Regions from separate parts of the Homo sapiens genome. Here all the other regions are linked to region 1. Evidence: promoter capture Hi-C in 16 types of primary human blood cells and fetal thymus (Javierre and others, 2016). All regions are on one chromosome and are shown on one strand. Each heading gives the region's core, a stretch centred on a gene start or on the middle of the fragment in contact. The rest is flanking DNA. Distances are from core to core; before and after follow the strand shown. Region 1 holds the start of GRID2 (glutamate ionotropic receptor delta type subunit 2). Region 2 overlaps CCSER1 (coiled-coil serine rich protein 1). Region 3 overlaps CCSER1 (coiled-coil serine rich protein 1). Region 4 overlaps CCSER1 (coiled-coil serine rich protein 1).

Region 1 (6,122 bases), core at 2,842-5,341:
GAAAGAAGGAAGGAAGGGAGGGGAGGGGAGGGAAGGCGAAGGAAGGGAAGGGAGAGATATAAGCTATTACTGAGGATAAGATTTTCACTAGTGTCACAGACAAAATAGTTTGACAGAGCGGTAAGTGGTAAGTCAGTGTGAAGTTGACCTGAAAAAAATGAGGTCAAGATAAGGCCAGCGTAAATATGTTATACAGGAATATGTAATTTAAGTATTTTTTCAAAGCTTATTTAAAAGTCAAAACATGTGCTTTCTAAGTTTAAGCCTTCCAACAAATATTAGTACAACTTCTGGAACTCAATTTTCCCATCATTGTCTAGAAAACCAAGACACTGAATGAGAAAGCCCCTGAAGCCTCAATGAGCTCTGAACTTCTTTGATGTGCTGAGTACAAAAGTTACTCTTTCAGTCCCTCAACCAAAGGGAATTTATGTTTTTCACATCTGCAAATAAATATCCCAATTACAATTTTACAGCCATTTATCACAACTACTTGCATCTATAGATGATCAGTCTTTGCCTTTTAACAGTTTTCCTTTCATGCTCATATTAAGGTTGAAATGTACTTGGAATCTTTTGTGTGACTAGCCATATTTGTAATATGAATAATATAATCATAAATAATTAGAAATAATGATCAGAATTTATTGTGTCCCATTTTGATGATATTATTTTAAAAACCAACTCTTTTAAGTTTCAAATAAGTTGACTCATAAATTCATAGATCTTTATACTAAAACAAAATAAAACTCATGAGTCATTAAAATATAATTGAACAGTTCGTTAAAATTGACCAATGTAAGTTGATTTACTGCTGTTATAACAATGAGCAGCTGATTTTTAAAATTTAAGCATTGGTATTCTTAGCAGTTTTAACAGTGAAAATGAAATAATTATATGTTCCAAGAATTTCTATTCTATTACCTTGCTTTCTTTCCACAATTGTGCATGATTGAAGCAGTCAGCATTTGTAGTTTCCCCTCCAATGCAAATCAGTTTTTCTCAAAAATTCTGCTTTTCAAAGAAAAATAGGCATATTAGTTTAAATCTTGGGGTAGTTCAGATAATCTATCATTTCTTCAAATAATTGATGTTCAAATCATGATCGATGCCTGAATGAAGTAACAGTCTCCACCTTGGAAGAATAAACTCAACAAACATGATTTACTTACATTTTATTTTAAATAGTTAATCATTTGTTATAAAACTTTAGTTAATGAGGGTATTTTCCTGCCAATACATGCCAGAATTTCACAAGGTTTGAATTTAAGTACAGTGGGCCAGGTACATCACTTATTTCCATATAATAAGGCTTGAATTAAAGTTAAGCAGCCTTAATGAGACCAACAGATAGCTGTCATTAAAACATTTAATATGCACAGCTAGTGAATTCATATTTTTTCTTCTGGAATTTAACATCTAACTCACACATTATAAATATTTGTATCCAGCTAACTACATATTACATTATGACAGACAATTTTCTAAAGTAGTAGAAAATATAGTTAATATATATTTATTATATATTTATTAATTAGGAATCATTGAATGTAGAAATTATTTCAACAGTAAAAAGACTGATTGTTATTCTTGAAAAATCAAACAGCCAATGTTAAATTTATACTAACTTTCTTGTGTAACTTTTGGAAAGCCAAAACTTGTTGTTCTACTGTTTCTTCTGATTGGCAGGAGTGGTCATTATACCTTAAGGGCTTTTTTTGATGTGTCACCCAGACTCATTTAAATGTCTGAGTATTAGAACAGTGATTCTGAACTATGGCTGCATAGCAGAGCCCTGTATAGAGGCTTTTAGAATATATTACAGGCTGTGTCCCAAACTCCAGAGATTCTGATTAAATTAGCCTTAAGTGACCATTTTAAAAAGCTTCTCAGATTATTTCAAAGTGAATCTACATTTGAAAACTACTAAACTGGAGGATTTGGGAATAATGAAAATGCTTTGCTCACAGTACACTAAAACATTTCCAAGAGGGGAAATAGTATGAATATGACTATACAATATTTGACTTTCTCCAGGACAGATACTCATTAGCCAGGACTGGACTAGTTAATGCTCTGAAGTTCTTCCTAGTTATCTTATTCTAAGATATCATGGTGTTCTTTCCATGTTAAATGGTTATAATTTTTCTTGATAGAATACATAATGACTTACCAATTTTTAGAATGTCACTGTAAATAATATTTGAAGGAAGCTATGGGGAGTGCATCTCTTCTTTCAATTCATTATCTGAATAAGCAAAGTATAATCTATGGAATTGCATCAAAACACTTTATAAAGTAAAATGACATTAACACCAACATTAATATAATCAATATTGAGTCAATGTCTACTAATGGAAACAAAAGATAAGAGAATGATCAAAATTGAGAGTAATTAATCAGTGAATGCTTCTTGGAAGCACTGGTTTGTTCCAGATTCAGAAGGAAGTGATGAAATTCAAGTCAACAAAGGGGTTCTCTGTAAAATGCTGTGTTGAATAAAATGTGAATGAGCTTTGGTTTTCACTCTCAAGGCATTTATGATCTAACTTAGTAGTAGTTCTGTCTAACTCTAATACAAAATAGGGTGTGTTACGACAGCATAGAAGATAGATGGATTTATTCCACATTAAAGGACTGGACACTACTTCATGGGCAAAAGGAATTTGAACTAGCCCTTGAGATGGTGAAGGAGAGTGGTTGGGAGGACAAATACGTGCTTTCCAAGCAGAAATATTAACATAAGTAAAAATATGGCAGCAAAACATTTTCTGGAATGTTCAGGAAAAAGTGTACAAGATGAATGAAAACAGCCAGAAGTGAGAATGTACAACTGTGTCTGGAAAAATAGTAACCCAATTCAGAAGGCTAGAGAGAAGGGCTCAAGTGAGGGAACGGGAGGAAAAGAGGTTTGCCAAACTTGGAGGTAAGGCTTTGAAAGGTTGTGTAATGAGCTTGACATCCACACATCCAACATTCCTAAAGAATTCCAATTATAACTGAGACAATATTATGACATTAATACCTGACCTCGACTAGTCACTCGATTGTGTTAACAAATCTTCAGTTTGCAATGAGGCCAGATTGACATAAGTCAATCATTATAAGAAAAGAAGTCACAATGATCAGGATTTTATCTTAAGGAATAAGCTTGCAGAAAATCCTTTCACTGGAGACTGAGAGGCTGTCATTCAGGACTTCCTCAGCTTTTTCCATGGAAGAGAGTACCCAACTTCCTCATTCGGAATTTATCTACATAGGTTATTAAGCTACTCAATGAAATATTTTGACCAAATGTTTATGAAAAATTTTTCTGTTTTATTTAATTATTCTGCTTTTTTATTTTAATTTCAAGATCTTTTCTATCCTGATAGAGAAGAATTTCTATCAATAGAAAGGATTTCAGGAACCTTTCTCTATCCTGATTGCCTAAAAAATACACTGGAGACAGAAAAAAAAAATCATTGTATAAAAGGTAATTAGCACGTTCTCTCCTTTTTATAACTTTATAATTGAAATCTCATTAAAAGCTTTCTAGGTCTGTATTTCCCTAAGTGACCAGGTGTCCCTAATTTGTTTTCAACCAATGTGACTAATTCCAGGCAAAGACTAGAAAAAGTCTGATACCTGTTAGAGAATAGCAAGGTTAAATAAGTGGGGTGGCTTTTTTAGGTTGCATTTAACCTCGTAAAATAAAGAAAGGAAAAAAAAAGCTTCAATGTCTTTTTACAGTCCTGCCTTTTTCTCAGTCCCGGTTGAAGATTCCATGGGAAATGAGAGCACTATTTTGTTTCTCCCTTGTATTGCAGATAGGGGGAGGAGGTGGTTATTAGAGAGAAGCTCTTCCTCTCTTGGTTTCCCCCTCTCTCCGCCTGACAGCACCGCTCTCTCGCAGGCTCGCTCCTTCTCCTAGGTGATCCATTTCTAGGCAACGTGGGGCTGGTGCTGAAGCTGCCAGGCTCGCTCCTTGCTTCCTGCATCCCGCCAGGCGAAACGCTCCAAAAGCATCCTGCAGCCTGCGGCGGCTTCCCTCCTCTGGCCCGGCCCCGCTGCTCGCGCCCGGCGCAACCCCCCCGCCACCGCGCCCCAGCAAACCGGCTCCCCGGGCCCGCCTCGCCAAGCTGCGTTCCGCGCCTCACGCAGAAAGGGAATTTTCTCTGCATTACTATCTGCATTACCTTGAAGTTCACTTTTTCTACCCCTCTTGGAGAGGGCTTTTTTCCCCCCTCCCTGGTGGAATCTGGCTGCTCCGTTTGGAATCTCCTAATCTTTCCTTTCCACTTAGATTCTGGCAGCGAAGACCAGTGATTCTCTGCGGGCTGTAGGGGCGGGGGCGGGGGTCTTTTTTGGTCCGAGAGGGTGCGGGGAAGGGGGCACATCCGGCGTGAGGGGGGTGTTGGAAGTTGCAGCGGAGCTGGGACCGGAGACCCGCGGCCCCCGCGCAGCGATGGGTCTGATCTGAGCCCCAGCCTCTCCCCCTGCCCAAGAGCAGTAGAGGCTGGATATATTTTTCAAAAGCCAAACTGCAAACAACTCTGGCGATGCCAAAATTCCCCTCCAAGTGACACGGCTTTGCGAAGGAGGTTTCCTCAGGCTGGGCTCTTTCTGTCATTCCCTTCTGCCTTTCTCGGCGACGATAAAAGGCTTTGCTCTGGCAATAGGAATTTAGAAAAAAAGAAAAAGCTGCGCTAAACTCCACCGTGACCTCAAACTCTTTGGACTGTTTGAAAAAAAAAAAATTGGAAGAAAATCCATCCTCCAAGAGAATCGGCATAGGAGGAGATGGAAGTTTTCCCCTTTCTCTTGGTTTTGTCCGTCTGGTGGTCTCGAACCTGGGACTCGGCGAATGCGGATTCGATCATTCACATCGGTAAGAAAGTGTTGGTGCAGCTCGTGGTTACTTTTACCGTTTCAGTTCTCAAATGTTTCCCCTTCGCTTTCCCCCTCTCCGGTCTCTGTGTGTCTTGTTGGAGGTGGCTTCAGTTCATTGCCCCTTCCCGCTACCCTTCCCTCACACTTGCTCAGTTTTCTGAAAGGATGTGGATGCTCGAACCTCGACTGACTTGTGCTGTTGTTTTGCAGTGATTCGTGGAATGTGGCTGGATGCGTGGGGGTCTCGAGTTGACCTGAGTGTGAGTGTGTGCTGGGAACTGCAGGGGGATTCTAAGTGTGTGGGGAAAGGGAGTTTAATTGACTCTTATCTTCCATATTTTTTTTCCCGGATGTACATTTGCTCCATTTAAAAATTTATCTTTGGGGGAGCAGAGAAGCTGTCACCTGTGAGATGAAAAGAACTGGGCTGGGGGGTAGGGGGAGCTCCCTTCGGATCGAACAGGTGGTTTTGCAACGTGAGCCGGCTGAGTTCGCCGCAGCTTAGTGCGATGGTGACGGGGGTGCCGGATGCGCCCCCAGCCACCCTCTCTTCTCACATCTTCTTGGCTTTATGATCCTTGCGTGTAGTCTTTGAGACGGTGGCAGGAGGGGCTGGCGGCAGTGTCGCCAAGGACTGATTGTCGCGTGCCTCGCCTCCTCGGACACGCTCCCGGGGCCTGGCGCGGCGGCGAAACTGACCCCGGGGCGCTTGGGAAACGCGGGGAAGCGAATGCGCGCAGGCTGCTCCCGAGGTCTGCTTAGCAGATATCCGCCTTGCCTCGCCTCGCCTCGCCTCGCAGTCAACTCCGAGTAGCCGCGCAAGGCAGACAGCGAAGGCGCCGGGACTACTGCGGGCCGCGACTCTGAGAAGGACTGCCGAGCGGGCTCCGAGATGCTGGTGGCCCCACCTATTGGCAACCAGACGGGCCGGGACTGGCCGCGGCGAGCAGGGGCGGGCGGGGGGCTGCGCGTCATTATCATGCACAGCGCTCGCAGCTTCAGGCTCCAACTCTACTCACTTGCTAATCCGTGAGAGCTGAGCGGGAGACAGGCTCTTGCAGCCTTTTCTGCGTTAATGCGACGATTTCTTTTTCGGAAATTCGCTTACCGAGCCAGCAAGGTTTCTTTGCTGGGCTGCAGAGAGGTCCCTTTGGGGGAATTTTTCTGGGCACAGGACTTTTATCTGTACGCATGGCTTGGTGTTCTGCAAATTGAGGCGACAGATGGGTCACAGCTTCTCCCCTTTCTGT
Region 2 (5,872 bases), core at 279-2,778, 1.9 Mb before region 1:
CACGGTGAAACCCCGTGTCTACTAAAAATAAAAAAAAAATTAGCCGGGTGTGGTGGTGGGTGCCTGTAGTCCCAGCTACTCGGGAGGCTGCTCGGGAGGCTGAGGCAGGAGAATGGGGAGACTGCTCGGGAGGCTGAGGCAGGAGAATGGTGTGAACCCGGGAGGCAGAGCTTGCAGTGAGCCGAGATCACGCCACTGCACTCCGTCCAGCCTGGACGACAGAGCGAGACTCCGTCTCAAAAAAAAAAAAAAAAAAAAAAAGCTTCCACATGGGATGCGTCCAAGGGAGCTTGGAAACGTAGAAGCTTCGTCGTTCTTTTATGGTCTTTGTCTGGTGAGGTTTAAGAGTCCATTCTGCAGAAAAGAGTTGTTCATGGATGTATTTCTGTCAACATCCATTGGCCTAGCTGATCATGGTCAATATAATGCTTCATGGCCAACATAATGCATATGAATTACCATACGGTTAAAGATCACCATATTTTCAAAGAAAAGATTGTATACCTTCTGATATAAATTAGACATTTCAAGCAGTACTCAACTTTAGTTTATTTTATAGTGCACAACTTTTGTCATAGTATTTTCATTTACTCTGAGACCATAATAAAGATAAATAAAATTGAATGATTTTTATGATATTAATTTACATAATTTACAATGGTACATCCATAGTTCATTCTGTCTAGGTAAAGGCTTTAAAGGACCTGTAGGTGACATTATCTAAACATACTTTGAGTCTAATTTTCTCAAAATGAATCAAATGTTGTTTTCCTAAGAAATGACAATCTATATTTTTTCATTCCCAATGATAGGCACTCTTTAAACATATACGATGGTTTCTATAGTAGTAGAGAAATAGTTTATGATAGTAGCTAAAAAGTTAATTATTAATTTACCTCAGGTTTCAGCAAATAGCAGGTTCTCAATAATTATTAGCAACTATTGTGAGTGGTACAAATCCTACTGCTCTCCATGTTGCTTCTGCTCCACCTCTCCCTCTCTATTTCCATTTGTTTTACAATATCTAACTAAAATAAAATTACAACTTACTTTCTTCTATTTGTCCTTTTTGACTATTTCTCTGGGAATTTTAGATTATGTCCAAATTGGACAAGAAGGCCTATGCCTCAAAATTGACTTAGAAAACACTCTTTTTAAAAAATTTTAAGTTTTATTTTGGGTTCGGGGGTATTTGTGAAAGTTTGTTATATGCATATATTATGTGACACTGAAGTTTAGGGTGCAATTGAGCCTATCACCCAGGTAGTGAGCACAGTACCCAATAGGTAGTTTTTCAGCCCTTGCCCTCCTTTGCCTCTCGTCTAGCAGTCCCCAGTGCCCATTGTTGCAGTCTTTATGTCCACATGTACCCAATGTTTTGCTGCCATTTTTAAGTGATAACATGTGGTATTTGGTTTAGAATGAACAATTAACCAATATTATGGTGGAGCCAAGGGATAATGGGAGACAGTTCTCTGTGAGTCTCTTGTGTTTCTGCAAGTCTTGTAAGCAGAGGCACTGACTATCTTCAACTTCAAACTACCTTTCCAGGCAAGTTTATATAGGAATGTCTGTTTAGAAGATATATACAGTTTCTTTCTTGAGCAAAAAGCAGGTTGTTCACTCTCCACTATAATAATGTGTCCTTCTAGTGCAAAAGTCAGGCAGGCTTACTTTCTACGTTAAAAGATTCTGAGTCTCAAGCTCAGGATTCTTCTCTTGTGTTACCTTAATGAAAATTAGGGCTCAGAGAACCCAAGCAAATACTGACACTCTGGTTATTATTGTTGCCATGAGTAGTAAAGTTCTTTGACTCTCACACAGGGATCTTGTGTCTTATGTCAACATGCATGAAATTATTTCATGAAATTTAAATTTTGGACGATAATACTGTCATGCATGGTAAAATCTCACAACCTTTACAGTTCTTGATAGGGTGTAGGGCAATAGAGAAAGTTTTGGTGAAAAACAATTCAGAATGCCAAAATGACATGCTGAAGGTATTTAATATAAACTTATACAGTTAAAATTACATCCAGAATTTAAGAAAACATTTAGTGTTTTTCATATATCACCACAAATGTAAAAATGATGCTAGTCAAATGGTTTAGAAGCATTAATCAATACATAAATTCTTTCCTTTAGAAAAACCAAAGGCTAGGTGTAATTGAGAATGATCACATATTGATTTCTAGCTCTTATTCAAAATCTCATTTCTTCAGAAAAGGAGAATATTGGAATATTAGAATGGGACCAAATTAGTTAGAAAAGAGTCCTACCCACATGCTGCCTGAATATTTCTTTCCTTTTCCGCTGGCTTCTCCACTTTTCTTGCCCTGATTCTGCAGAGAGGCTACCATAGCCACAGACGTCCCTCTGTGTTTTTGATCCTCAGTCTACTCTTCTTTGATTTGCCAGGAGTTTCTGGTAAAGCAGAAAGGTATCATTCCATGGGCTACATTCTGATTACAATGAACCAGGCTTCCTCCTTTGCAGTTAACAGTATAATATCAATAGTTTCATACAAGGGATGCCTTTCTAAGTTGTGTGAGTACATTTATTTTGTCAATCTGTAGACTTACAGATTTGCTCTTGGATAATTGCAAATTGAGTAAATTTATATTATTATTTAGAGTGAATATGGATCTGGGATATTTATTTATTAAACATTTAATGTTGTACTGACATGAGCTTATCAGTATTAAGTCATTAATCCACACAATAATTCTGTTATCCCTCTTTTACATTATAGAAAGCTTACCTAAGATTATACAGTAAAATATGGCAAAGCTGAGACAAATATGAACAAAGGAACATAGAGTCGAAATAGCTGTGGTTCCTGTTTTCTAATTTTCTACAAATTCTAGATTGCTTCTCTCCTTGTCAATTGCTTATCAAGCACTTGTCATAGTATTTTGTAGTCATTTGATTTTGTTGCCTTCTTAAAATAAATAGTACGCACACTGACACCAAGAATATATTTAATTTTTCTGTTAAATTTGTTTTTCTTTCATTTTTGCATTGCTAATCCTGAAGAGAAAATCATAGACTTTTTGACATATAATAGTTGCCACATAAATTGGTGAATGAATATCACTGTGGCACCTAAAGTACACCAGATCTGTTGGGGGGTTCTCTTTGTTTTATATTTCCTGACTTTAAGTGCACTCATGTGTTTGAGAGTTTTATTCTAAAAAGACTACTTATCCAAATGCAACTTGGCTGCCTACCATGATTTGGCAAATAAAGACTTTCAAGGGCAGAAAGAAAAAAAAAATCTTAAGATTATTTAATAACAGCATGTACCTTCCAAAGAAGCTAAAGAAAATTGTCAAGTGAAACAGAAAACTGTGACATTATTTTATTAAAATATGACCTACAGTTTTAAACTTAACGTATCTTATAATTTTATTTTTCAGTAATTGTATCCATTTCATTTTCCCACTCATTATTAGAGCAGAGCCTTTCTGTAGTGGTCTGATGTTGCCAGGTAGAGTGTGGAAAAATTTTCCTATAGATACATGTTCATTCTGCAAAAAGATGGGATTATATTCTGTAATGTAAAGTGAATATTTATGCTTTTGTGGTATCCCATAAAAAATGTTTGGGAACAACTTTGCCTTTTTAGCTTTTGAAAATGAGCATTTTTTTATGTGAAAGTTTGCTTTATTGTTGGAAAGCAAGAGCAAGAAAAAAAAGTAGGAAATGATTTTGCTTTAGTAAATTGGGTTTACCAAGTCTTTCTTCTTCTCTTGAAACATAGTGGGAGGAGAGAGCTTTATATTCAAGCTAAAAATAATCTTTGGGTAACACCTACATTTTTACCCTGAAATAGACAATAAAATACATTCCCAGGGACTGACCATAAAGGGGTGTGGGGAGTAGAATACTTGAGCCTTTTCAAATTGTCTGTCTCTCTCCCCCAAGTTCAGGAAACCATCTGTCTCCCTCTACTCACATTTTTCCCACTAACTGAATCCTCTTTATTCCAAGGATTAAGTTCAGTGTCTTTAAATAGAAAAATGTGGAGATTTTATGAATTGCCAAATGAAAATGAAAGGTTCGGAATCACTAAAATTGATGGTGTTCTGATTTTAGAAGTTAGAAGAAAATTGCAATTAAAAATATGATATTCAACTTATTCATTGGTGAAAATATAAGCTATGGAATAAAATGTAAAGCCAAATATATATTTATCAAAAATCTGCTTAAACATTGTATAGAGTTTATATAATAAAAAGCATTAAAGTAGTTTGATATTTAAAAATATGTAGTCAGTTCTACTTTAAATTGCATTTTTATTACTATGTACTCAGCCCTAATTCACAAGTTGGGGAATATTAATGTTTTGTGCCTACCAGATTGATTGCTGTAAAGAAGACAGTTAGTGTGATGATGTAGATATTAAACAAAGTAAAAGGCAGTTAATGCCTGAAAATGGGAAGTTCTTAAATGTGGAGCTCACACTGAAAAGAAAAACATAAAAGAGAATCTTATAGGTCAAAATAAAATTTTGAAAATATGAAACAAAAAATTATAAACTAACCTATTTTTTTTTCATTAATCCATACAATGACTGAACATTTTACAGCAGTATTTCATGGTGTGATAAAGAACCTAATGATAGCTATTTTTAAGAAACACCATCAGTATGGAACTTTGAAGGCCTAAACTCAGGACAAAATATATGAGATGTTGACAGCCTATGGCAGATTTTTAATTGATATTGCAATCAGTGAAATTAGTAGTATTGCATATATTTTTGAGGGGAAAAAGATAAAAGGAAATTATTTTTGAGTTTGAAGTTTAGTGTGTGCTTTAGCCTACAGCTAGTATTCACAGAAGATTTTCACAGTCTCAGTTGTGTTTAATGTGAAAAATTTAAAGCATAATACATAAGGTTAATACAGAATTCAATGAGCAACATAAATTTTATATTTTTATAACATCCCATTTGGCTGTCCCAATTCATGTTGATGTGTGTGTATTCTAATACCATATTTACATATGTATATAAATATATATGTGCATATATACATATACACATATATACATACATTTCTAATATGTTCCTTCTATTTCCTTCTCAATTTCTACTTGAACTAATCAAAATATGCAGACTTTAAAGATCATAATTTAAGGAATTCGTGATAATTTTTAAACAATTGTATGTACATAGGATGATTTTAAAATTCATGTGTGCCTGTCAGTTAATTCACTGCTTTGTAGGCTCCTATTTGATGCTCAAAATTAATAGGTAAACACTGGATATGCAAAGGGTTATTGGACAAGACAATCCTTTGAATACTTACTATTTTGAAATACTTGAAGAATCAGAAAACCATAAATATATAAGCAACTGTTGAACTGTGAATAAAGTCTGAGTGAGTTAAGAGAAGGAAGGTGATTTCGTCTTTTAAACCATGTTTAAAGTAAATACATATTTAAATATTCCTGCTTGATAATCATAATCGATAAGTGAGCAAACATTTGTTTTTGCAATGGGCAAAGACCTTGCTATCAATTATACATGTGAGATTATCTTTGTTTTAGTTTTCCTTCTAGCATATTATTGTAAAATTAATAGTATATAGAATAACAGTTTCTTGCATACTACAGCATTTTTGTCTGATTTTTTTTCGTAGTAGCCATAGCCAAATATTACATTTCAATGCCAAAAAAACATGAAGCTCAATATTTCTATAACAGGCGTAATCAAAGTATGATTGAAACCTTGGTTACCAGTAAAGCTGTTCAGTATTCATAGCCATGGTAACAGTAAGATTTAAAATAATAGCAATAGCATATCTATCATGACATTATATTCATGTTATTCTTATTAGTCATTGCATTTATAAAATTATAATTATGT
Region 3 (5,378 bases), core at 2,816-5,315, 1.8 Mb before region 1:
AAAGGCCCTTTTAGCCTCTGGTTCCCAAGTTAGGGAGTGGATCTGGTATTTCACCGTGCCATGTATCTATACCTGCAGAATACTGTAGTGCCCAAGAATGCCTCAGTTGCTTGAGGGTTTTGAGGCAAGGAAAGAAGGACATGGGCTTGATTCTTTCTTCACCTAGTGCCTGGGTCCCCTCTGACAAGACTAGACCTAGGTACTTCACCAAAGTCTGGCAGAGCTGAGCCTTAGATTTTGAGACCTTATATCCTGTTATCCAGAAAATTAAGAGCTTTACTGCCTCCCTAAGAGATTTCATCAGAGTTGGGACATAAAGGATAATGTATACATATTGTAAAACTTTAACCTGAGAATAAAGGAACTCAGAGAGATCTTTTGACACACCTTCTCAAACAGGTGGGGGCTGTCTCAGAATTCCTGAGGTAACACTGTCCAGGTTAACTGGGTGGCCTAGTTGGAGGAATTCTTGAATGCAAACAAATACTGGGAGTTGAGGTGTAGGAAGGAAAAAGGAATCTTTTAGATCCAGGACTGTGAACCATTTAGTTCCCTCAGGTATTTCAGTTAGCAGGTTATAGGAATTGGGAACCACCAGATGAATAGGGACCACAGCCTCATTAATGAGGCAGAGGTCCTAGACCAGTCTCCATTCCCTGTTGGGTTTTTGTATCCCCAATATCAGGGTATTACAAGGGTTGTTACAGGGTTTGAGAAGGCCCTGAATCTTCAGGTTATCAATGATGGCTTCTAGTCATTTCCTAACTTCTGGTTTCAGAGGATATTGTCTCTGGTTAGAGAAGGAGGTGAGATCCTTAAAGTGGACCGAGACCAGTGTGGCAATTGTGGCTCAGCCAATTTTCCCTGGAGTAGTCCAAACTTCTGTGTTAATATTGGTCTCTACTATGGGGAGACAAAGAGTCTGTCCTGGAGCCATAAAGATAGTGGTTCCCATGTGAGCCAAAATATCCCTGCCCAAGAGAGGAGTTGGGCTTTCAGGCATGATTAGAAAGCATGAGTAAACAAGAGGTCCTGCCAACTACAACTAAGGGGTTGAGAAAACTATTGGGTTAAAGGCTTTCCTGAGACACCCCTTATGGTAGCACTAAGAGAGAAGGGAGTGCCTGGACTGGAGTGGAGAACTTAAAGGACTACTTCAGTGTCCAGGAGGAGGTCCCCTTTCCTCCCTTCAACTTTCAGAATCACCCTGGGTTCCTGGAATGTAATGGTGGTCTGGACCACCAGAGCCAGGTAGAGGAGCCCTGGGATGTGTGAGTCCTGCTGGACCACTTGAGAGACTAGCTCTGGACCTGGTGACCTGTGTCTCTGGGGATAGTCTTCCCTCCAGTGGTCTCCATTACCTACTGGACAGGGTCAAGGTGGCTTTCTCATGTTGCCTGGGCAGTCTTTCCTGAAGTGCCTTGGCTTGCCACATTTGTAGCAGTTAACAGGTACATCTAGGGGACTCTGGGGTTTGTGAGCCTGCAAAGAGTCCATTAGAGCCTCTGCCTTTTCTTTTGTTTCATGTTTTTTTTTTTTTTTTTGGATTTCCTCCTGATCCCTATTATGAAAGACCATGGTGGCCAATTTCAGGAGGTTCTCTAAAGTACTATCTGGTCCTACAGCCTATTTTTGCAGCTTCCTTCTGATGTCTGGGGCTGCCCGAGTAATAAACTTATCCTTCAGGTTCAGTTATCCTTCAACTGAATCAAGAGATAGAGAGGTATGCTTTACCAAGACCCCTTTTAGCATTTCCAGGAAGGCAGTGGGTTTCTCATTGAATCCCTTTTCTATCATGTTTAGCTTGGAGTAATTAAGAGGCTTAGTTCTAGTCCTTCATAAGCCCTCCAGTATGCACACCTGAGAGTGTTTCCTCTTCCATTCTCCCATTTCATCATTGATGTCCCATTTATTATCCTCCAATGATACTACTATTCTTCTAATTGGATTGGCACTCTATGACATACAAAGCTTATCCCCCAAATTATCTGCTGCTTTCTGGGTGGCCTGCTTTTCCACAGTAGTCAGGATCTGATTCAAAAGTAACATAATGTTCTTCCAGGAGAGTTAAAATACTTGGGTTAAATTCTGGAAAGCCTCTATATGCAAATGTCAGGGTCATTTGAAAACTTGCCAAGATCTCTCTTAATCTGCCTTAAGTTCCGTAGAGAAAAGCAAATTTGGACCTTAATGAGACTATATTTGCCAGCCTGTTGTAGGGGCAAAAGTGCCTAAAACTAAGATTTCTAGGATGGAACAAACTTAGAGAGAACCTGGATAAGGGAAGTGGAAGGAGATGATTCCCCCAATGGAGGTACCTCTGGGGTTTGCTTCTCTATTTCCCTGGGATTGCCCCTTGCAGCCTTTTCTGAAATTGCCACCAGGAGGGCAGAATCAATCCTACAATGTTGGCAAAGGTCCGAACTTCCCTGCAAGGCAAAGAAAGTCTGCACATGTGGGACTTCAAACCATTTGCTCTCATGTCTACAGAAAAGTTCCAGCTTCAGAATGGTATTAAAATTAATACTTCATTTCTGAGGCCATGCTTCTGCCTGCAGAACATAATTCAGCCACACCTTAGTGCAAAGGAATATAAGGCAGATTTTCTCCAGAGTCTGAGTATTAAGGAGTCCCAGGAATTCAAGATACACTCTAGAGGAGTATAGGTTAAAGATGGTTGTTTACCCTTCTGGAAGAGAGAACAGAGGAGGAAAAGGTGATTTTTCTTCTCTCCAGAGTCTGAGGGTCAAAGGGGTCTCAGTGATTCAGGATGCAGTCAAGAGGAGTGCAGGTTGAAGATGGTTGGTTACCCATCAGGAAAGAGGGGTAAAAAGCATCCCTTTGTTCCTTTCTCTTTCCAGCAAATACCCAGGGTAGGTGAGGCTAAGAAAAAAGGGCATCCCTTTCTTTCTTCTGACCTTATATCCCTAAATCCCCGTGATCTTTGCAGGTGTTGACCATGTGTGCAAGTGTGACTTCACCCATGAGGTGGGGAGGCATACCCAACAGGAGTATTCACACCCACCTATATGGTGCCTAATCCTCCTGCTTTTGGTAACCTTTAAATTCCCTAGACCTTATCTATGCCATGGGTAGGAGGATGACCTCCATCCACGATGCAGGAGGGCCTAGTTGGCAGGAGTTAGTCATGCTCACCTGCGCCGTGCCCCCTAAACTTCACTGTCATGTGCCTTTGGATCTCTCACATCTAGTTTTTCTTTCTAGGGCCTCAAAACTAAACTTGGGACAAAAAAATGCCTCAGGAGGGTGTATGGACCCATTAAATTAGTGGCCTCACCAAATTGCAGCCAGAAACTGGTGGGGCAGCCCATCTCTTGCTTCCTTATTATGAATAGGTGAAGCTGTGGGACCAGGTCCTCTGCAAACAAGGGAAAGAAAGGGAGTCCTGGGAATTGGGGACCTGGCCTAACAAGATGCTTCCCAAAAGAATGATTTAAGTTCAGGGGTGGGGAAGGTGCCTGGGGAAAAAACCTTTTGCCCTGTGCAAATGGGTTCCTTCAACAGGGGAAAGAAAACTCTCAATTGTTACATCCTTCTTGCTTCTAAGAATAGATAGACATCACATTGTTCTGATTTACACTTCTGATGACCAAGCCAAGTGCTTATTCTACCCGGTATTATTATCTCTGTACTTTGCAACAACACCCTTATCATTGTATATAAAGAAGAGATAGGAGCCACGACAACCTTGAAAGAAAGAAAGAATGATAGGAAAGACTGGAGGTCCTAGTGCTGACACCCTAACAGGCAGTCGGGGACTGGAGTTAGTTCAGAGGCCTTTGGATAACACTGAGATATAGCCTCAGCCAGATACCCTCATTTGCCCCAGGACCTCCTTCTGATCCCACACGATGGCTAGACCTCCATGAAGGGAAACTGGATTGGAACAAAGCCAACATTCCCAACACCCAAGGGTGATGGGGGATTGGCAGTGTCCTCCCCAGCAAGCCTGTCCTCATGTCTTAAGTCCAGCAGCTATGCTAGTCACTTTCAACTGGCCAAGAGAGGCATGGCATTTTTCTTTCAGTTTGGTTGTAGTGGAGTTTAGGGATTCCCCAAAAAAGGACAGAAAGCAGCAAGTTTGCTTTTACTCACCCTTTTGCAGATCCTGGATGAGCCCCCCAAAATGTCATAGGATCCTCAGGGTGTTGCTTTGCCAGCTAGAAATCTCTGTGGCTGGTGGTGCCTTTGCCCAAGTTTTGCTCAGGACCACTGGACTTGATTTGCTCACTTGGCCTGGCAGTCTGCACTCGGCTTGTACTACTGGCTCAGATCCGATGCCTGCCAATGGTGAGCCAGGCATGAAGCGGTGAGGAGTGTGTAAGCGAGCGATCCCAGGGTCCGGCCACTGTGTACAACAAGGCACACTGGCTGGGGCTGGCGGGCTGCTCCAGGTGCTGGCACAGGTGCTGGTTCCCTGCGAGGCTATGGCTGGACCAGGTGTACCGCAAGTGGCTTCCACTGCAGGCACCAGGGAACACTTTGTCACCCAGCAGCTTGGAGATCCCAGGAACTGCAGAACGCCAAATAGCGTGTAAGAGCCCTGGCTCAGGGAACTCTTAGAGCTGAACTCCCCAAAGAGCCTCAACTTTTCTCTCCTCTTTTCTCTCTTTTTTCTTCTCCTCTTCTCGTGCTCACAACATGCTGACTAGGGGGGCATGTTTCAGCCCTGTTTGTGCCATTCAGCAGGTCCCAAGTACTTGTCTTGTTTCCAGGAAGAATGAGGTGCGTGGGCAACTGCAAGGTGAGCAAGGCAAAGAGGTGTTTTATTGAGCTACAGTACAGCTCTCCAGAGACCTGAAGTGGGTAGCTTCTTTCAACAGGCAGATCATCCAGATGTCTGTTCAGCTCTCAGCTGAGAGAAGACCCACAGTGGGTAGCTCCTCCCCACAGGCAGGTTGTCCTAATGTCTCTACAAATCTGGCTGAGTCCAGGCTTTTATGGGCTTCAAAGAGGAGGAAGTGTGTGCTGATTGTTCCATGGGCGGCCATGGCTGGGCCCGGAAAAGGCACCATAATTTTCACTCTGCTCCAAGCAACTGGCAGCCTGGCACCCAGGCTTCAGGCCATCCCTAGCATAAAGGTGAGTCTTCACCAGGGACCCACCTCTTTCCACCCAGGAGCCTATCTGCTTTCTGCCATCATCAACCTGCCATCCACAGCCTGCAGACCCATGCCAACCTTCTCTTTGCCGTCCCTCCCATGCTTATCAGCACCCAATGTCCAGAGGGGCTCGAGACAGCAGGGTTCTGGTGTGTCGGTGCCACCCTGAGCATGTGCATACCCAGCAGGGTCATGGCCGTGCCCAGGCTTTGTCACAACTGTGCTCCAAAATTGGAGAGGGCACCAGAATCAGGG
Region 4 (5,595 bases), core at 535-3,034, 1.9 Mb before region 1:
GAGTGACATGCAAAGTTCTATTCTCAGTTGCCCAAAATAGGGTAAGAGCCCAGTACAAGTTGGTTACCATTCTTGAAATTTTAGACAGTTTTAATTCCTTGTTAAAGACGTTGTCCCATTATTGGTTATTTTTTGTAGACCCTAGTTTCTTAATGTTTTATCATTATTATAAATTATTTTAAAATGTGCTTTCTGATTTAAATGTTATTATCTAAATTTTATGTAACATTTTAAGTGATAATTTACTAGTACTAAATATTCAAAAATCAAATAGGACACTTTGCTTATAATAGGTGGTATATTTCTTTGTGTTAAAACCAGTGCATTTACCATAAAAAAGAATGAGTTCATGTTCTTTGCAGGGACATGGATGAAGCTGAAAACCATTATTCTTAGCAAACTTAACACAGGAACAGAAAACCAAACACCACATGTTCTCACTTATAAGTGGGAGCTGAACAATGAGAACACGTGGACACACGCAGGGGAACATCACACACCAGGGCCTGTCAGTGGGTTGGGGGCAAGAGGAGGGAGAGAATTAGGACAAATACCTAATGCATTCAGGGCTTAAAACCTAGATGACGGGTTGATAGGTGCAGCAAACCACCATGGCACATGTGTGCCTATGTAACAAACCTGCACCTTCTGCACATGTATCCCTGAACTTAAAGTATAATAAATATAAAAAAAATTTAAAAAAACCAATGCATTTAAATGCATGAACTTTTTTTCTGGTTGTTAGTCAAATGTCCAAATTGCCATAGCATATTTAAAATAGAAATTTATTTGAAAAAGAATAAATTTCTATTTTAAATACCTTAAAAATTATTAACCATTAATATTAACCATTAATCATTAATACTCAAAGAGAAATTATGGCTGTTACTTTGTATTAAGGTTGATATTTACAATTTGCAGAAGAGTTTTTAAATTAAATTAAAAATATATCTTACTTATTTAATGTTTTTGGATAAAAAGAATGTAATGGTCATTTGGATGATAGAATGAAGATATTTTATGTTGTTTTGGTTATTTATTTAGTATATTAGATCTGAAAACACCTAGGGCAGTGTCTCTTGGTATATATCCAAAGGAAAATGGGGAAGTAATGGCCCAATGATATCAATGAGGAATTAATTGCGTAGTTGCTAAATTATTTTGAGTTTGATGAACAAGCAATATAAAAATTCTGCAGTGAGTTAGGAACTCCTCCTGTGCCTATTAATTAGGGAGATAATTTTTGTTATTAATTTTTAATGAATAATAGTACAGCAGAGCAGAGATGAAACCCTAGTGGTTTTCCTAATACGAATGGTAATGTACAGAGAATTGCAACAACATTCACACAGGGAAAATTATAGAAATCAACTATAAATTTCTACAAGCTCTGATGTGTCTTGGTCAGAAAAAGTGTGTCTAAAGTATTTTTAATCTGATTATATAAAACTAAGAAACATACAGCACTTAATTTTTGAAGTATAACATAATGGTTAAAAATATGGATGCTGGCTCTGGAATTAGACAAATCTCAACCACCAGCCAGGCTATGTAAACTTGAGCAAGTTATTTAATCTTTTGCAGCTTTTCTTCTTCATCTGAAAATGGGCGCGATGATGTATCTACCTCATAAATTTGATGGAGAAACAATAAGTTAAAGCTTTGTAGAATATGCAATCTCATGTCCAGCATATATATTTTTAAGAACTACTGCTAATACCATTTTAAAAATATGCATGTAAAATGTGATATACCTGTATGTAGGCCAATCAGCATCTGATTCTGACAGATTTAGTGATCTTTCCAGTCTCTATTAGTGGAAAATCTTAACATTTTTAAATATAGAATTTCTCAAATTTTAAGTATAGAATGCCACAGCACATGCAACTAATTTTTATCATTTATTTCTAAGCTTATAAAATTATAGCACTAAATAAAATAATGGGATAATAAATAATATTTATTGAGTCTAGGTGCCAATTTATGAGGTAAATAACATCACTTTCTCATTTGAGAAAGTTGGAGCTTTGAGTGATAAAGCATTATAGGAATAAATATCCCAGCTAGACTCAAACATGGTATTTCTGACTCTGAGGCTCTGTAATTAGCCATTTTGATTCTGTTGACTAATAAAATTAATTCATGTAAAATGTTAAAATCACATGTTCACTGAAGCATTTGTTTTAAACTGACCTTCTGTTCTAATAGCTTTTTAAGTTATGGGCATCACTTAATATATATTTGTCTTTGACTTCACCTAAGAAGTTGGAATTAACTATGTTTATTTATTGAAGCATATACATTGTGCTGACCACTGGCCTGGGCACTTTGTTGTTTCAGGTTTTGCTTTAGTTTTAAGCTATAATTTCTAAGCATTTTGGATTATCTAATTTAATCCTCACAGCAATTCTCAGAAAGTGTTATCATTCTCTCTTCATAGATGAAGGAAGAGAAACCCAGAAGAGCACTGTTATTTGTGCATGATTACAGAGCTATTCTTGGGTTTCAATTATGCCTATGTGGCTTTGATACCCACTTACTGTTTCCACTATAAAAGCTCTCAATGATGTTTAGTTACTAGAAGGAGCAGTTATAATAGCGTTTCCAAATTTTCTATTACACTACAATTTTGATAACACTTTAGTGAGGATGAAATTGTGATCTCAGTTGTCACTTTGTGTGTTTCATCAGCAGATCCTATTACTCTGTATTTCTACTTCAAAAGGGATACAATACCTGTTATCTGCTTGGTTGCCATTAGATGGCAATCTTGTTCTTCTAACGATGATAGTAATCCTGTCATACATTTGTATTCAGCTTTATAGTTTACAAGCTATTTCAAATATGTTATCTCATCAAATTATCACAGTAACACTCTGAAATAGATGTTAATATACATCAAGTACAGTGGAGGGAGCAAATACTCTGGTTAAAGAACTTATTCAGCCAGTATTAACCTAGATCTTAACATTAAATGGCAGTTTCTTTTAACTGTTTTTCTAGACCTTGATGCTTCTAATTTTATGTACAGTTCTAATATACTTGGTTATATGTTTTCCAAGGCACTGAAAATCATAATAACATCTTAGAAGAGGAGAGAGAAGAGGAGAGAGAAGCAGCAGGGAATGAAGTATTGCTGTATTACAATGTGGCACACCATTACTTTTTAAAAACTATTATTGTAGTTCTTAATCATCAAGAAAAAATACATTCTGCATTATTCTGAGATGGAGAGCTGTATAATTCACTTTGGAAATATATCTAAACTCTTATTTATTCTTTAATTTATTGAATGAAAATAAACCCTCAGTTCTTCATATGCTTTAACTATCCAGGAAGTGTCATTTTATAATGATTCCCCATGGCAAAAATGTGAATATACCTTAAACTTTTTATATGTTTTTTATGTTTTTCCCCATATTCTTTCCCCAGGTTCTTGCAAAAGACTACTTAGATATAAGGATAGCTGTGCGAAAGGCTTTCCTAATTGTCGTACTTGAAAAAGCAGTAATTTATAGTCTACTAATTGAGTATGGGGACCATGATATTCCTTAAACACAAGACTATATAATTATCGATAATACATTTTTAGTGTAGATATTTCAAAATTTAATATTTTTTATTAGCTGTTTTTGCTCGACCAATTTACAAATTGACCAATTGATTAATTCATTAGTTTGATACATTCTTTTACACTCCCATTAAAAAATATTGAACTTATTAATTAAAATAGTAACATTCACCTGGGTGCACTCTTTTCATACTCTGTGTTAAATGATGTACTTAAGTGACAGAATAATGTTCTAACTGGGAGAGAATTTTAGAAGTAGAAGCTCCTCCTACTTCTTCTCCTATGAATATTAATAGTTTTAAATGTTTTGTTCAGGGTCACATAGTTTGCTTGTAATAAAGAGATGACTCTTAAGTAAGAAATTGACTAGCTCCATGTAGTAAGATGGCAATTATTTGATTTTTATGGTAGTTGCCAACAGACTAAATCATTTGCATTTCCTGATTTAAAAGTGCTTCTGCCTATCTATTTTGCCTTTCAGACTTTGCTATATTTTTAAGAGGATTGCTTCAGTGACAAAGAAGGCTTTTAGATGGAACAGTTTTCTAAATCCAATCAACAGTAGCTGAAAAATGTTTATACATCCTGACCTAATTTAGTATTAAATAACAACAATTTTAATGAAGTCATAGTATTTACTTGTAACCTGCTATTGTAGCATTTCCTACTGACATAAACTCTCTTCTGCTGCACAAAAGGGCAGTCAATGGCCCAAGTTCATTAGAGGATACAGTCAAAAGAAAAGATGTATTTCATTCGGCATGGTTTTTCTGGTGCAATTAGAAAAGAAAATATGTGTCTCAATATAAAATTTCATGGCCTCTTACAATTATGTGGTGACATCTCCATACAATTGCTTGAATAATGCCAGGAACATCAGCTGTCACTATCAAAATGAACAAGTAATTAAGAAAGCAAACGCTGGTCTTTCTTCTAAAGGAATAGAATATTTATGTATTTAAAGTTGTTCACCAACAAGAAAAATAACCACTGACATGAAACATAATTTCCTATCGTGCCTGAGGCAGAAAAGAGAAATAATAATGAAGATTCACACAATTACAACAAATTAGGTTGCAATTGTGCATACTAAAAACAATTATAGACTTTCTATTCATCAGGTCATATGATAGCATCTTATCTCTTTTATTTATTTTCTGATACTCTATCTTATTAATCACATTTTCTAAAAGCTTATGATGGAATTGGGAAACTCTTACTCTTATCAAGACCACATTTTCTGTACCCTTACATCATAACGTGCTAGCATAACCTAAAGTAGGCTAAGCCTTGTCTGGATAGTAGAATGATAGTAGATCTGATTGAAGCCATAATAGTGTTAAATGCTGGCTCTTCAACCTTTTGATAAGACAGTGTTCAGTTTATTGTTTACTGAGGTAAGGGAAAAACGCTACCTTGACTGAATTCTGGTAGTTTTCTGTAGAGGAAAGTACAAGATAGGATTTACTGAGAGTATGAATGTGGTTTAAGGCAGATGTTTCAATTGAAGGGTTTGTTTGAATTGGATAAAAATAATGATTTTTTTATCCTTATATCTATGTAGTCTTTTGCAAGAACCTGGGGAAAGAATATGGGGAAAAACATAAAAAGCATATAAAAAGTTTAGAGTTGTAGGATTGGCGGAAACAGTGAGGGGAGGATTTTAACATGAAGAATTTAATGACTCTTAGGGGTTGAACTCTCTGTTGATGCTTTTTATTGAAAAATTGGTGGGTCTTTGGGGACAGTCAGTGGTGTAAAATGTTTTGGAATTGTTAGGGTACACCAAAAAGACAATAAAATAGGAAAGTGATGTTAAAGTAGACAGTCTGCTGTTTGTGGGTTGGTGGTTTTGGGCCTCAGTCTCCCTACTGAGGGAGGGAGAAGGATAGAACATTTTTAACTAAAGGCATAATCAATCCAGATTTTCACTAATGTTTGAGGTGTTACAATCACATATCAGATTTCTAGGGCTCATTATCTCAAATGTCCATGAAAGTCAGTTTTTTCCTCTTGAATGACCT

Evidence for each region. The method cuts DNA at HindIII sites, captures the fragments that hold promoters and counts their contacts. A CHiCAGO score of 5 or more calls a contact.
Region 2: a fragment that was not itself captured here is called in contact with the fragment with the promoter of GRID2 in region 1 in 1 of 17 cell types (M2 macrophages); the score reaches 5.3 in M2 macrophages.
Region 3: a fragment that was not itself captured here is called in contact with the fragment with the promoter of GRID2 in region 1 in 1 of 17 cell types (M2 macrophages); the score reaches 5.7 in M2 macrophages.
Region 4: a fragment that was not itself captured here is called in contact with the fragment with the promoter of GRID2 in region 1 in 3 of 17 cell types (M0 macrophages, M2 macrophages and M1 macrophages); the score reaches 6.5 in M0 macrophages.

The regions. Positions count from the first base shown.
Region 1 is chr4:92,299,875-92,305,996 of GRCh38, forward strand. GRID2 (glutamate ionotropic receptor delta type subunit 2) reads left to right here and starts at 4,092. Exons shown (of 16, transcript NM_001510.4): 1 at 4,092-4,870. The coding sequence starts at 4,783. RefSeq lists a silencer at 5,624-5,918. The HindIII fragment of the contact is 7,809 bases long and covers 3,712-6,122 here.
Region 2 is chr4:90,360,342-90,366,213 of GRCh38, forward strand. The region is part of intron 3 of CCSER1 (coiled-coil serine rich protein 1); the gene reads left to right. Among named protein-coding and RNA genes, the nearest start is that of CCSER1, 240 kb to the left of the region's middle. The HindIII fragment of the contact is 2,451 bases long and covers 304-2,754 here.
Region 3 is chr4:90,452,702-90,458,079 of GRCh38, forward strand. All of the region lies in intron 4 of CCSER1 (coiled-coil serine rich protein 1), which reads left to right. Among named protein-coding and RNA genes, the nearest start is that of CCSER1, 330 kb to the left of the region's middle. The HindIII fragment of the contact is 4,193 bases long and covers 1,970-5,378 here.
Region 4 is chr4:90,416,536-90,422,130 of GRCh38, forward strand. The region is part of intron 4 of CCSER1 (coiled-coil serine rich protein 1); the gene reads left to right. Among named protein-coding and RNA genes, the nearest start is that of CCSER1, 290 kb to the left of the region's middle. The HindIII fragment of the contact is 252 bases long and covers 1,659-1,910 here.